2 separate regions of the Homo sapiens genome follow, and region 1 is linked to region 2. Evidence: promoter capture Hi-C in human tissues and cell types (Jung and others, 2019). All regions are on one chromosome and are shown on one strand. Each heading gives the region's core, a stretch centred on a gene start or on the middle of the fragment in contact. The rest is flanking DNA. Distances are from core to core; before and after follow the strand shown.

The links. The method cuts DNA at HindIII sites, captures the fragments that hold promoters and counts their contacts. A contact is called where the count stands out against the background at its distance.
Region 1: a fragment that was not itself captured here is called in contact with the fragment with the promoter of FSIP2 in region 2 in 2 of the 25 tissues and cell types used here (aorta and mesendoderm cells).

The regions. Positions count from the first base shown.
Region 1 is chr2:185,674,680-185,678,904 of GRCh38, reverse strand. No RefSeq gene overlaps it. Among named protein-coding and RNA genes, the nearest start is that of FSIP2, 62 kb to the left of the region's middle. The HindIII fragment of the contact is 6,612 bases long and covers 1-4,225 here.
Region 2 is chr2:185,735,890-185,740,095 of GRCh38, reverse strand. FSIP2 (fibrous sheath interacting protein 2) reads right to left here and starts at 1,292. Exons shown (of 23, transcript NM_173651.4): 1 at 1,103-1,292; 2 at 625-750. The coding sequence starts at 1,201. The region is part of intron 1 of FSIP2-AS2 (FSIP2 antisense RNA 2); the gene reads left to right. RefSeq lists a silencer at 891-1,160. The HindIII fragment of the contact is 10,800 bases long and covers 1-1,912 here.

The sequences.
Region 1 (4,225 bases), core at 1-2,500, 61 kb after region 2:
AAAGTTTTTTTTCTTCCAGTTAAATGAATTCTGTTTTCTTCATTTACTTCTGCTGGCTCTCCTTTCTCTTGCACCCTCTGCTGCATGAGGGACCTCAAATAGTTTATGACAGCCTGAGGTTCCTTAAAGAAAATGGAGAAGGCGCCAGGCTCCCTTTTGGGGAGAAACCTCTGTCTTTCCTTATGGAATCCCAACAGTGTAAACAGACAAATTTGTCTCAGCTCTTAAAGTGCTTCCTTTTGTACTGTGTTACCTGAATTTTTGACTAAAATAGCTATTGCAAAAGAGGCTACTCTTGGGTTTTTAAGGAAGAGTATAGTTTAGACATTTAGAAATGTCTTTGTTTAAAAATAAAAATTTAAGTGCACTGTAAAAGCATCATGTGATTTAGCCTCATAATAATTCTCCCCTTTTGAAGACTCAGGATTCAGGGTGGTCTCTGCCCAGACCTCAGAGATCCAGTTAAAAGATTGGTAGTCCCTATCTAAATAAAATTGGCCTCCTTATTCAATCTTATAATAGGTTTCTATAATTTTATGTTTTATTTTGTATCCACCTTTAATCTCCCTCTAGCACCACCTGACTTTTTCTCTCCATACCTTGAGATGTATATTTTGCTACCTGATTTTTCATCTAAGAGTTGTTTCCTTCGATATGCAGATTTAGAGCTATTTAGCTGACAACTGTCAGGGTAATGAAACAGGTTATCAAGAGTTTGCAAGTCTAAGATAGGAAAAATAAAAACAAGGGGATCTTAGAAATCTATAAGATGTACTTCTATCGGGATGCCTAATACGTCTATGTATTTATGTGTTGTATACACAACTACTAAAAATATATAAAAGAGCTCTACTTAATTTGCTTAAAGAAAAATAAAAGCACTTAAATACTTTATCAGAAAAAAAGGAGACTAGTCAAATGCTTTTTTAAGTCTATGTGTCTTAAGTAAAATCTTTATTAAATAAGGTAGCTTTAAAATTATTGGTAAAGTAATATTAGAAATGTCTTAAGAATTGCCAACATACATTTTAGTTTGCATTTATTTATCAAGAAATTTTACACTTATCCCCGCCAAATACTATAAGGTGTCAAAATCTGGCATAGGGGTTATAAAACTATAAACCCAGCCCAAAACAGAATGATATTTGCTTGTGTAATTTTAAACATATAAGACATTGATACTGGTTTACTGACAATAGCTACATCTTGAATTAGTAAAATTACCATAACTTCTAATCTTGTGGCTTTAAGCAGTCTAGTCCATAGGCAGGAAGGAGGTTTGTTTTGGGAAAGGACTGTTATCATCTTTGTTTCAGAGGTAAACTATAAACTAAGTTCCTCCCAAAGTTAGTTGGGCCAACTCCCAGGAATGAAAAAGGGCAGCTTGGAAGTTAGAAGCAAGATGGAGTCAGTTAGGTCAGATATTTTTCACTGTCTCTGTTATGGCAGCTTCATAACTTTAAATTATGACTATCACAGTTTTCATAAATCTAGGTAAACAATTAAAATAAAATAATTAGGTAAATATAATGGGATAAATACTTGTAGAGAAACTTGTCATATTTAGAATCTAAAGTTATATTAAATTAAATAATTGATACTTCATTATTTGGGTATTTTTTAATAAAAACATATTGTAAGAAAACATTCTTTCTAAAAAAAGTGTTCTTTTAAAAAAGTGAATTTTTTTTTTCTAATTCAAAGCTTATTTAAAAGTTATGCATAAAACAAGGTAAAAGGAAACAGGAAATAAGAGAGATGTAAAGAAAGTTATAGAAATAAAGAGGTATTTTTTGGTAAGAAAGCTTAAAGATAAATAATATTCTATGAGAAAGAATCTTGTATGGTAAATTTTGTCCTTGAATAAAATGACTCGTTATTTAATAAAGAGGGATGTTCAGGACAAAACAGAAAGTCCAAGCATGTCAAGCATTGTCTGTATAAGTCATAATACGAGGATTTATAAAATGAACAAACAAGCAAAAACTTTTATACAATCAAGTTGTCTATAATTTAAGGGAAATTATAATGATTTATCTAGAGATTGAATTTGATATTAAAAAAACACTTGTACACTAAAAAATTGGTTAGAACAATGAAATTTTCTGAACTAGCCAGCCATTGGGTGGAAGTTTGACTATATTTGATCTCCTTCCACCCTAATGGGGCTGCAATTTATCCTTACTGAAACTGATAAATATTTCAGACATAGTTTTGTCTTCTTCCTAGAGTGATTCTGCCAGTACCACTGTCTGAAGGCTAACAGATGGCCTCTAAACCAGTATGACATCCTTCAGTGAGATGTCTGGTTTCATTGCAAAGAAGGTGTGACAATAGGCATATGAACAAACAACCCACGGCTATTTCCATACAGTGAATCATTCAGATGCAGCTAGCCACATAGTATAATAATAGGGCCTTGGCTAAGTGGCCAGCTCAGGAATGACAGCCTGTGGGTACTGTCTTCCAGAATGTAGTATATGTACTAAACCTATAGTTGATATAAACAGGGCTAGGCACCATATAGTTACAATGCACAGGATTTGTAGTCGATGATAGAAATAGGATTGGAACTCTCACTATCACCCTTAGCCACACCACCAATGTGTGAAATTTAATGCATGCTGTCTGTGCACTTTTACATCGTGAGAGTTTAGAGGTTTGGGTTTATTAAGAGGAGCATGCTTCTGCTTAGGGAAACTGTGAAGACTGTTCCCCTTCCTAATAGCACCCAATTCACAACAGACTCCAGCGAATCTCTCCAGAGAATGTCTCCCGAGAATCACTCAGCTAAAGCCACATCCTGTAACAAGACCATCTTAGCTCCTTGCAGAGGCACCATCCAGTTTCATGGCTAGGTATTCTCTCATCCTGCAGCAAATGAATAAATCTAACTTTGTTTTATTTCATGTGTGTTGTTAATGGTTTACATCTATGGAAATTAGCAGTATATTTTAGATCTTCACTGGAAATTGAAAGCTGTTAAGGCATAGGGCCATGTTGTCTAGATGGTCCTCGGGAATTGTTGAATTACACCATTTGAATGAATAGTATTTTGCCTGTAACAAAAGTATGCTATTATATCTGGGAGCAGTTTAAATGTAAAAATTGTACTCTATAATAATTGCATATGAATGTATTAGTCATACTATACCTATTATTACATGTTCTAGAAAGATAATGCTTTTGTAACCCAGGTACTTTTTAAATAGAATTTGATGAATAACCAACACGTATTACATTTAAACTAAGTCATCATTGTATTTATTGTTTAAACCAATTTTTGTGCCATCTGTCTTATTTGTGGCTGCAACATCTGAATAATTCCTCCTAAAAAAAATCAAATTAAAGCAACAGCAGTAATAGAGGTAAAAGGATAAAAATTTCAGCTGTTTTTCAGATTTATCTACAATTTTTTTATTGTGGCCTAAAACACCTTGGAACCTGTTTTCAAAGGTGATTCATGTAATTAGAATCATGTTAAAAATGTATTTTAATAGACTATAACTTTGAAAATTTGGAACATTACTATATTAGAGGCACTCTTGATGAAAGAGAGATAAACAATTCACACTAAACCAAATCTGAGACCTACTTCGTTTAGAAAGTGCCAAGTTTTGTAATATAGCAGTCCCCCTTATCTACAAGAGATATGTTCCAAGACTCTCAGTGGATGCCTGGAACCATTGATAGTGCTGAACGATATATATAATATGTTTTCTTTTTTCCTGTGCATATATACCTATAATAAAGTTTAAATTATAAATTAGACACATTAAGATATTAAAAACAATATTAATAAAATGGAACAATTATACAATGTACTGTAATAAAAGTTATGTAAATGTGGTTTTTGTCTCTCTCAAAATATCTTATTGTACTAAACTTACCTATTTTTGGACAACAGTTGAATGCAGGTAACTGAAACAGTGGAAAGCAAAACCTCAGATAACGGCGGGGGGGTTACTGTATAATACTTCAGAGAAATGTAAAAGCCAAGTCGTTGCCTTTCTAAATTTGCACCAAATCATAGATTAAAAGCCATGTCTTGATTAAAAACAGCATAACTGTTTGCATTGGATTTAATAAGTCCATATTGATTAATAAATAAGTTCACATTGATTGATAAATAATTGACAAGAAAATGTTAATGTGTATTTACCCATGCTATTTTATTGTTATTGCCAGCTAGGAAGCTTAATCAAGCCAGCAAGGGGTAAAGTAC
Region 2 (4,206 bases), core at 43-2,542:
TCAACTTGAAGAAGCTGAGCCTCTCTGGTTGGAGACAATGCTGGATGGAAAGGCTGGGGCAAATTATGGAGTCTCTTCCTCATTGAGGCAGGGCTTTCTTTCATTAAAGTAAGGTTAAAGTACTAAACATATTAACTCATTTTAAGTCCCACTGTTTCAGTTCTTTTTTTTTTCTTTATGTGTAAAATAGAATTCAACTCAAAACAAAATAATGTTTCCCGTGAAGAGAGTTTGGTCCAAGATACTGTCAGTTAAAATCGTAACATATCATTAAATGGCAGCTATCACTAATAACCTTTCAGCTTCTAAACATGTTTCTAAGTACATCAAATCTTACTATATAAGTATATATGAAGTTTTATTATAAGGAATATTAATATGGTACCGTGAATTGTTAATTAAGGACTAAGAATCTAAACTTTCTGGAATATGATTATGTCCAAACCATTAAGATGAAAGTGCTTCATATGCATTCTAAACAATACCTTCGGTCAGATGTGGGATTTTCTTTTTCCTGTAAATGTTGATGCAAATTCCTTTAATGAATTTTGTATGATGCAGCCTTTGAGTTAAACAGCAAGTAGTAAAGGGTAAAGGAAAGAAAGACGATAAAAACTTGTTCACCTTTTCACCGAAATTCGTAGTATAGAATACAGCATTGCTTCCTGGGATCACAGGCAGCTTGACCCCGAGAGGTAGGTCCAGTAGCTGAGCCGGTCCAACCCCTGCAAAGTGGGTTTTGTGCACGCCCTGTCAGACACAATTGGAGAGTTTTGTCTTTCCTTTTAGGCAGTATTAGTTTAGTTTAGACCAATCTACTTCCATTGCAACCAAAGACTCCGAAGAATTATACAATCAGGGTTCGGGGCATCCTGAAGTCCTCCCGTTTTCCCTGGTCACCAGCTCTCCTGGCGTCCCGCGCCTGCCAGTTGCGGCCGGTACAGTCCGAGCCACCGCCACCGCCCCCGGGCGCCGCAAGAGGGCAGCCTCCTGACGGGGGACAGTTGGGAGCCTCGCGACCCGTGTGTGGCGATCCCTGCCCCGCTCCCCAGCAGGCCTGCGGCCGCCAGAGGGCGACGCCGCCCAGCTTGCGGCCACTCACGTCTCTGCACTGCTGGGTGTCCGCGGCCAGGACGCTGGCGACCGTCTTGGTGACGGCGACTTTGGCAGGCTTGGAGCAGGCGCCGAGGTACAGCTCCATGGCCGGCACAGCCCCCTCAGCCCCTTCCTCACCCGCCCCGCTCTCCTTCTCTAGCACCCCGTTGTCCCTCTGTCCGGACCTGACCAGGAATGGCCAGAGCCCAACGACCTCAGCCCCGCCCCCCGCGTTCCAGGCTTCCAATGGTAGCGGCCCCAGAAGGGCGGTGGCCTCCTGAGGGGCGGCTCGCGCCAGCGCGTAGAGCGCCCGCAGAGCTGGGAAAATCGGTCCGAGAGGCCTGATCTGAGAGGACCACAGTTGAAACTTCATCTTTCTCTGAAACCATCACGCCTTAGCCAATCCTAACGAAAACGTATAAGCTTTGTTGGTGGGTAACTGGTTAATTTCCCCTGGCTTCCAAGGAGCCCTGTTCCGTTCAATAAAAATTCCCGAGTGATTGTTTTTGCCCATTCTACATCTTCCCCCATATAGACCACACCCCATCCCCAGGCTCCCACAGCTTCTTCCCACACCAGGTCCACAAGGCAGACGCGTTGGCTTCCTAAGGGGCTCATTGCCTTCCTCCTGCCTCTTCTGTCCCCTAGGTTTCCTTCTCCTTTCTAGCGCCCTTTACCACTCTCCCACTGCCTCCTCTCTGCTCCTGCAGCTTGATCCTATTTCCCTCTTTCTCCTCAACCATCCAGCCGAAATTTATAAAGTGCTTGACGCTTCTGGGCCAGTCATTGAGCTAAGCACTGGGCAGGACACAGCCGTGAGTAAAATATGGCCCCTGACTGTAAGAAGCTAACTAGACTGGGAGTATTCTGAGGGCAGAGACAGTATGTGTCTAACCCACCTGTTGTTTAGACTTAACTTCATACTTTCTTTGGTCCACTGCTGTTCTCTTTTATTTCTGGCCCGACTAGTAATAACAGTTACCATTTCTTCAGAATCTACTAACTTCCATATACTGTGCCAAACACCCTTTTAAACATTTATTTATTTTAGTAGCCTTATCAATAATTACTCTTTATTTTTCAAAGATTGAGGAAGACTGACAATTGCTGTTAAATGGTGGCTCCTGAGGCTGTTTTCTTAATCAGTGCACTCTGCTCTCTTTGTTGTAATTCCACACATGTGCTTAGGACTCTTAAATTTGAAATCTAAGCTTGGGATATAGTCTATTGCCAGCTTCCATATGGATATCCCACAATTGTCTTAAATTCAATCTACTCAAATCTCAACACACAACTTTCACCAAAACAGGAAAAAAAAACAAAGGCTTCTTCCTGCATTTCCTATCTCAGTGACAATACCAAAGTCTACCCAAGCCAGAAACTAAGGAATGCTTCTAGATACTTCTTTTTCCCCTTATCTCCCATGTTTAGTTGGTCCCCAAGTCCCACTAATTTTATCACTAAAATTAATTTGCCCGATTCTATCTACTCCTACTTTACTCTCCCGGTTAAGCCGCTAATCATTTTTTGTTTGTTTGTTTGTTTGCACCATTGCCACAGCCTTATAACATCTCCCTGCCACCATCTACCCCAAAAATCCATCTTGTATCAATTTGATCTTTGATGGCAAACTGACCATTTCTCTTCCTCACTTTAAACTCCCAACTGCCCTCAGCGCAAAGTGTGTAATGGCCTCTGTTACTTGGTCTCTGTATCAGTTTCTTATTGCCAGCAAATCACCACAAACTTAGTGGCTTAAATTACCACAAATATATTACCTTACAGTGATGGAGGTTAGTAATCCAAAGAGAATCTCACTGGGCAGAAACCAGTGTATTGGAAGTGCTGTGTTCTTTCTGGAAGCTCTAGATCACAACCTATGTTCTTGCCCTTTCCAGCTTCTAGAAGTTGCCTCTTCCTCACACGTTAAATCTGGCAATGTAACATCTTCAAACCTCTCTCTGACTCAGACCTCTGCTCCTTCTCTTCTACAATTAAAGAATCATTGTGATTACATTGGGCCCATCTAGGTTATCCATGCTAATTTATCTATCTTAAGATCAGCTGATTAGCAACCTTAATTCCATTAGCAATCTTAATTCCTCTTTGCTATGAAATATTCACATACTCAGTCTTGAAAATGAGGACATAGACATCTTTGGGGTACTATTATACTACCTCTCACAGCCCTGTTTTTGTCCATCTCTGAGACATAACTCCCCTGTACCACCTCTCAGAATTGAACCTCAAATGACACCAAACTGTTTGTGGTTAGTTCTCTACATGGGGCCTGCTTATTCATGCGTGATTCTGCATCTTTGTTTATGCTGTCCCCTCTGCCTGACAGCCCCTTTCAATTCACTGCTTGGCTAATTTCAATCAGCCTTTAAAACAATTCAAGTGTTACACCTCTGGGAAGTCTTTCTGTCTTTCTAAGCTTTTGACAAATTCTCTCCCTTTGTGCTTTCCTCCATCTTAACTTTTTCACATTACAGCAAGAATATCTGTTTACCTGTCAGTCTCCCTTTACTAGAATGTAAATTCTTTTAGAGCAGGGGTTGGTTTATTCGACTTGTATGCACAGCACCTAGCATAGTGCTGAGCAAGCACTTAGTGAGCACTAAGTAAAATTTTGTTTCCTGATCTAGTCAGACATGAATGAGAACCCGCTGAAAAATTTTAAGCTAATTCTTATTCTAGAAGAACACCCTGGCAACAATTTGGAAGGTGGATTTGTGGGGGTGAGAATAAAGATCTGGGAAACTTCATGATTTGTAGACAAGCAGAGAATGGATTTGAGAAAAATTTAAGAAGAAAATTTTCAAAACTTTGAGCTCTTCCTCATCTCACCTACTTTTAAAAGAACAGAGTTGGAGGGAATCATTGCTGTGAGAAGCTGACAGTGGTGGATGACAAGCTTGAATTTCCAGAGGAAATAGGTAAGCCAGAAAAAATGAATTCTCAAAAAAAAAAAGAAAAATCCACATCAAATAGGTGAGTTCTATTTATAAGGAAAGCAAATGGAAAAGAAGAAGTCTACAGTGTAGATAAAATATCTATGACATTTATATGTAAAGGAGAATTTGTTGTATTCTCGGAAAAGTTAGAGGA